Linked DNA regions of Homo sapiens: region 2 is linked to region 1. Evidence: promoter capture Hi-C in human tissues and cell types (Jung and others, 2019). All regions are on one chromosome and are shown on one strand. Each heading gives the region's core, a stretch centred on a gene start or on the middle of the fragment in contact. The rest is flanking DNA. Distances are from core to core; before and after follow the strand shown. Region 1 holds the start of ZNF507 (zinc finger protein 507). Region 2 has its middle 28 kb from the start of ZNF536-AS1.

Region 1 (3,169 bases), core at 350-2,849:
CATGGACATTACACTTAAGACATGACTAACGAAAAGCCTCTCTTCAGATAATGATAAGTTAGGATTGTTTGTGCCAATAGCCCAAGGCAAGGAATTTCTCATATTACTTGTTTGTTCTCCCTTTCAACACTTCGTATTTCTGGGTTTTCTTCACTGTTTTTTCTTTCCACCCTTCCATGCTAGTCTCCTGCTCAATCTCTTACCTTTTATCGAAAAAAAAATTACTCAACATTTTATTTTTTCACAGCTATTTGGTCTAATTGGCAAAGGATTCTGTGGAATAGCAGAATTCTAACTTTGCAGCCGGGCGCGGTGGCTCACGCCGGTAACCCCAGCACTTTGGGAGGCTGAGGCGGGCGGATCATGATGTCAAGAGATCGAGACCATCCTGGCCAACATGGTGAAACCCCGTCTCTACTAAAAATACAAAAAAATTAGCTGGGCATGGTGGCACGCCCTGTAGTGCCAGCTACTCGGGAGGCTGAGGCAGGAGAATCACTTGAACCTGGGAGGTGGAGGTTGCAGTGAGCCGAGATTGCGCCCCTGCACTCCAGCCTGGGGAGAGAGTGAGACTCTGACTCAAAAAAATAAAATAAAAATAAAAATAAAAATTCTAACTTTGCTGGTTTCCTAACCCCCAAATTCAGATGAATTTGAATTCTGAAATACAGTAACAGGAATTATCAGCCTGTCTGATTCTAAATTTTGTTGGATCTTCCTCCCAGGACCGTGGACAGCCCAGCCAGCTGTAAAGGCCTCTAAAAAGATCTGGAACAGATCCCCAAGAGGTATCTCACCAAATGAGTCCATTCCACTACAATGGCCAGAATCTTCAGTTTTACACCCTTGCTCATGCCCACCGCTCACCCGGAGTCCAGACCCAAGCACCATGCTGCGTAGTTCCTAATACGGCAAAACTATCCAGCATTTTTGGTGAAATTGGCTGGAATGCTTCACTTAGTCCGTTTTTCACTGTTAGCAGGAGAACCACCCTAGTATCTTTCATAGAACAGATCCGAATGACAAACACCATCGTGCCCTCGGAGGGCTGAGCTTGTGTTACTGGGTCTGGTCCTACAAACCCTGAAAATCCTGAATCTCTCAAGCAAAGAGATTCCCCAGGGCCAGCTCTGGCCCTTAACAGGCACCCCTTAACGCCAAGCTGCGAATCTGGCTAGGACCTCTATATTTTAGCCAAGAACACCTTGAAATGTACAGTCCTACCAAAGGAACTAATACAAATCCAGAAGCACAAGGCTAAAGAAAAAAAAAAAAAAAACCCCAATGCCCATTGTTGAAAGCCAATTGCGGGGTGAGTGGGGTGATAAGGCTAGCCCACAGCGGATTTAGGCGACGTGGGGAGATGCCAAAGTGAATACACGGTGACTTCTAAATCTAGACGTCTGGAAGGGGCCATGAGAGCCAGACAACTGGGCCCGAACCCCGCCCGGGAGCCAGGGTTTGCAAGGGGCTAAACCGGCTGGGGAGCCTCCCTCTCGCGGGTCCAGCCTCGGCGGCCCGGGACGCCGGTAGGCGGGGCCTGAGCCTCGCCCCGCCCCCGCTGCCCGCCATTCGGGTCACCTGACCCACCCGCGGCTCACGTGATCCGTCCCCAGCGCCGCCATTTTGGAGCTCCGGATGAGGAGGGGGAAACCGGGGGAAAAGAGGGAAAAGAGCCGGGAGAGAGGTGGGCAAGGACGAGGGCGAGGGCACGGCCGGGTCCTGGCTGGCCAAACGAGGCTCGCGGAAGCAGCAGCCGCCGCCTGACCGCAGGTACCGCGCCCCGGGGCCGCCCCTCCGCCCGCTGTTAGCGCCGCCGCCGGCCATGTGCATCCTCCCCTCAGGCCTCTGCCGGCGCTCGCTTCCTCCTCAGCCGGCCGACCCCCGCCCGGTGCTAGCCACAAGCCCCAAGTTCCGTGTCCCGGTTCTGTCTTCTGTGCAGCAAGGCCTGCGGAGACTCTGGGCTTGCCCTGCAGCTGGGGGTGGGGGGAACTTGCTGCTCCCTGCATACTGTCACCAGCCCGGCCCGCCCGCAGGCGTTGCTTCCTTCTCCAGGCGTTGCTTCTTTCTGCAAATGTGAGATCGCTTAGGCCAGCCGGGATGGACCCAGCCACGATGTTCTCACAGCATCTTTTGATTAATTTTCTAAGCTCCCTCATTCCCGACCCATCACCTCAGTCCTTTAGCCAGTGCGTGGTGTAGAAAAAGCTACTACAGAAACGCAGCCCTGGTCTTCTGCATTTATTACCATCCTCTGGAGATAGAATGATGTCTCCAGAGATCACGGAGACCATCAGGGAAAGTTCCCACCTCTTAAGACCTGGGGGCATCGGAATGAATGGTTTGTGTAGAAGGCCGGGATGATTAATAAGGTGGCGGCCACTTTCCCAACCCCAAGGCGGTATTTTTAAGTTTCTGCAGTGGGCTGTAATTTGCTATCAGTCTGCATCGCTCTTCTCAGGCAATTACTGGATTTATCACCTCTTTGAGTTTGCACTTTCTCCAGTACTCCCCTCTCACTCAGAGTATGGGTTGCATTATTGATTAAAAGAAAGCCTGGCCCTTCATTCCTTTACCTCACTAACTCGTTGAAAATTAACTTCAGGGGAGCCCTAAAGATGTTTTTTCTGCCCTGGCAGTGAGCTATTTTACTTAACCGTAATCGATAAGGTAGTTGCATTCTAGGTGAAACGAATAAGCATTTTTTTATCTTTTAGATTTATTCCAGCCAGTATAAGAAACAGTGGCAAAGAAATGTAGGACCAGAGTAGGAAACTGCGTTAGAAGATATATAGGTCACACCACTGTGTCATATCTTTTTATGCTGTTTTTCTGCCTATTGTGCTTGGTTGCAGAATCACTCGTTAGATTGTATTTTTAGTTTAGATTAAAATAGCAATGTGCAATTTATTGTTCCATTCTCATTAGAAAATGTTGTCAGTAAAACCAATAGTGTTGAGTCCAGTACCTAAATTCTGAGGTAAAACAAAATACACAATTATTGGGAGAAGTTTCCAGAGCTATTTTTTCCTAACTTCTGCAAAATCCTCAAGTCGGCTTGTTAGATAAATTATTTAAATTTGCATTACGTAATAGGGTTGCATGAACATTCCTCTGAATTTCTTTTTACATGGAATATTGAGAAATTTTTCACTGCCAAAAAAAAAAT
Region 2 (3,169 bases), core at 289-2,788, 1.6 Mb before region 1:
GCAGGCCGGCTTGCCTGACCACCCAGGCGGGCTGATGGCTCCACTCATCAGAGGAGCCTGGGTAAGCAAATAAACAGGATATAAGGCAAAATCTGTAGGGCATGCGCAATGGCGGGGGATGAAGTTGCTGGGGAAGGGAGCCACCTAGAGGCCAGGCCCCAGGAAGAGTAGCCCTGAAGCCAACACCTGGTGGGGCTGAGCTGGGAGGCATGGGAGACTCTGCACCACCAGCCAGAGGCTCCTCTCTGCTGATGCCCTGCTGAAATCTGGCGACATCTAAGCTCTTATCCTAACTCAACTTGGGCCTCAAGCTGCAGGGAGACAGCAAGACACAGTGCAGGTTGAGCTCCAGCTGCAGGACCATGTTCTGCCTCTCTCTGGCTTTGTGGCTCTGGACAGATGCTGTGCTAGTCCATTCTCACACTGCTACAAAGATATGATCAGAGACAGGGTAATTTATAAACAAAAGAGGTCTAATTGACTCATAGTTCTGCATGGCTGAGGAGGCCTCAGGAAACTTACAGTCATGGCGTAAGGTAAAGGGGAAGCCAGGCATGGGGGCAGGTGAGAGAGAGAGCAAGTGGGAACTGCCAAACACTTTTAAAACCATCAGCACTCATGAGAACTCCCTCACTATCAAGAGAACAGCATGGGGGAAATGGTCCCCATGATCCAATCACCTCCCACCAGGTCCCTGCCTCAACACCTAGGGATCGCAATTCAAGTTGAGATTTGGATGGGGACACAGAGCCAAACCATATCATCCAACAAATGGGAGCCCAACCCCTGATTTCAGCATTGGCAGAGGAATCAAAATGCACATCTCCCATTTGAAGTTCAAGGTTACCATGCAATGGGCACGTAGTAGGTGGAGTATTTTAATACTTACAGCCTTTTCTAGCAGACATTCATTTAACTCTATGTGCTGCACTTTGTGCTTAAGCATCAGGCCTCATCTCATTGAATCCTCACAGCAATCCTATTAGGGAGCTATTATTATTATTGCACCCATTTTACCGATGAGAAAACTGAGACTTAGAAAGGTTAACTAGCTGGTTCAAGAGCACACACAACCGATAAGAGGCAGATACGTTAGAGCCTTGGTGTCTGGCTTGAAAATCTACAGTCTTCATCACTGTGCTTGAATAATGAAAAATGCTGCATGCTAGCAGGGCAGTGGCGATTTCTCAAAATCTGCTCTGCTGCCTTCCCTGATCCTTGGGTTGCAGGCCCAGCAGACTGTGTGTGTGCCATATGCCCTCCAGAAGTTTTCGTGTCAACAGAAGTTAAGTATTACCTGTTTGGTTCTGTGACTTTGGAAGCATCTCTTGATGTGGGGTGTTGGTTTCTTCCTGTTCACAGAAAATCAATCAAATCCACTTTTAAATAAACTTTCAAAATAAACTTTTAATTTTAGTATGGATTTAGATTTATAAAAATGTTTCATAGACGTGGGATGTGGTGCTTCACGCCTGTAATCCCAGCACTGTGGGAGGCCATGGCAGGCGGATCACCTGAGGTCAACTGTTCAAGACCAGCCTGGCCAACATGGTGAAACCCAGTCTCTACTAAAAATACAAAAATTAGCTGGACCCATTGGTGCACGCCTGTAGTCCCAGCTACGCAGGATGCTGAGTCTGGAGAATCACTTGAACCTGGGAGGTGGACGCTGCAGTGAACTGAGACTGCGCCACTGTACTCCAGCCTGGGTGACAGAGCAAGACTCAGTCTCAAAAAAAAAAAAAAAGTTTGCATAGATAATACAGAGAACTCTCATAGATTTCACCGCCATTTCCCACTATTATTAACATCTTACATTGGTAGGGTATGTTTGTCACAATTCACGAAGCAATATTGACACATTATTTTTAAATAAAGTCCATCTTGTATTCTTAGTGTTTTAGTTTTTATCCGATGTCCTGTTCTGCTCCAGGATACCATATTACCTTAGGTGTCCTGTCTCCTTCCACCTTCCTGGCTGCAACAGTTTCTCACTTTTCTTGTTTCTGATGACCTTGACAGTTTCCAGGAGTATTTTGCAGAACGTCCCTCAGTTGCAATTTCTCATGTGTAGACTGGGGTTATGGATTTAGGGAAGGAAGACCACAAAGGTAAATTACCATTCTCATCATATCAAGTCAAGGGCACCTGCTGTCAGCCTGACCTTGGTCTGCTGGCTGAGGTCATGTTTGTCTGGTTTCTCCACGGAAGTTACTCTCCCGTCCCTTTCCATACTGTACTCTTTGGAAGGAAGTCACTTGGCACAGTCCACTCTTAAGGAGTAGGGAGATATGCTCCGTCTCCTTGAGCAAGAAATAGCTACAAAATTATTTGGAATGCACAAGGCATTTGTCAATCCTTCCCCCTGTATTTATTGATGCAATCATTTATGCCAGTATGATTTGTGGATATTTATTTTAGACTCTGGGTCATAATCTGATATTATGTTGTTTACTTTGTTACTCAAATGGTTCTACCTTTGGGTATGGGGGCTTCTTCAGCAAGCTCTGTGCTAATCTGACACCCCCACTCCACCATCAATATGTGGGGGTTTTTTTTTAGTACTTTCTTACTTTCTAGCACTAAATACCCCGGGATTATTTTGGTGTATTTCCTATCCCAGTCCTAGAATCAGCCATTTCTCCAAGGAGCCCTGGTTCCCTTTTTTTGGGAGTGGTATTAGAAACCAATGTCACCACTTCTAGACCCTCTCAGCTGACAGAATAAGGAAATATATGCTTGTGTACTAACTCCTGTATATACACACATCTATATTATAAATATGAAGTTAAGCTTGAGTTCACACAGATGTCTTCAATCCATTACCACACAGATCAAAATGCACTTGTAAAATAAGTACATTTTTTTTTGGGTAGCCTTCTAAATTAAAACCCAAATCACAGGAAATTTGAAACCTAAATTTATTTGTACTAAGGATATTCCAAAGTGTTTTAGCATCTTTGATGAGATGGATGAATATTTTTTTAAAACTGAAAACATAAATTACGTACCTGATTGGAATCATTCTCGCCTATTTGGAATTAGGAAATTTTTTTAAACTATATGTGCAACTGAGAAAACGGCTCTCTCTGTGGGCCTAGTGATTCTTTATGTATATTTTTACCTCTCTCATTGCCCTGCTGAGCCACTGAGCCTCTTGAAGCTGAAG

The links. Contacts are between HindIII fragments. The study calls those that stand out against the background at their distance.
Region 2: a contact is called between a fragment that was not itself captured here and the fragment with the promoter of ZNF507 in region 1, in 1 of the 25 tissues and cell types used here (dorsolateral prefrontal cortex).

What each region holds. Positions count from the first base shown.
Region 1 is chr19:32,344,011-32,347,179 of GRCh38, forward strand. It overlaps ZNF507 (zinc finger protein 507), which reads left to right and starts at 1,600. Exons shown (of 7, transcript NM_001136156.2): 1 at 1,600-1,773. RefSeq lists silencers at 1,424-1,553, 1,584-1,773. The HindIII fragment of the contact is 20,549 bases long and covers 1-3,169 here.
Region 2 is chr19:30,696,560-30,699,728 of GRCh38, forward strand. It overlaps a transcript of ZNF536 not described here. Among named protein-coding and RNA genes, the nearest start is that of ZNF536-AS1, 28 kb to the left of the region's middle. The HindIII fragment of the contact is 6,760 bases long and covers 1-3,169 here.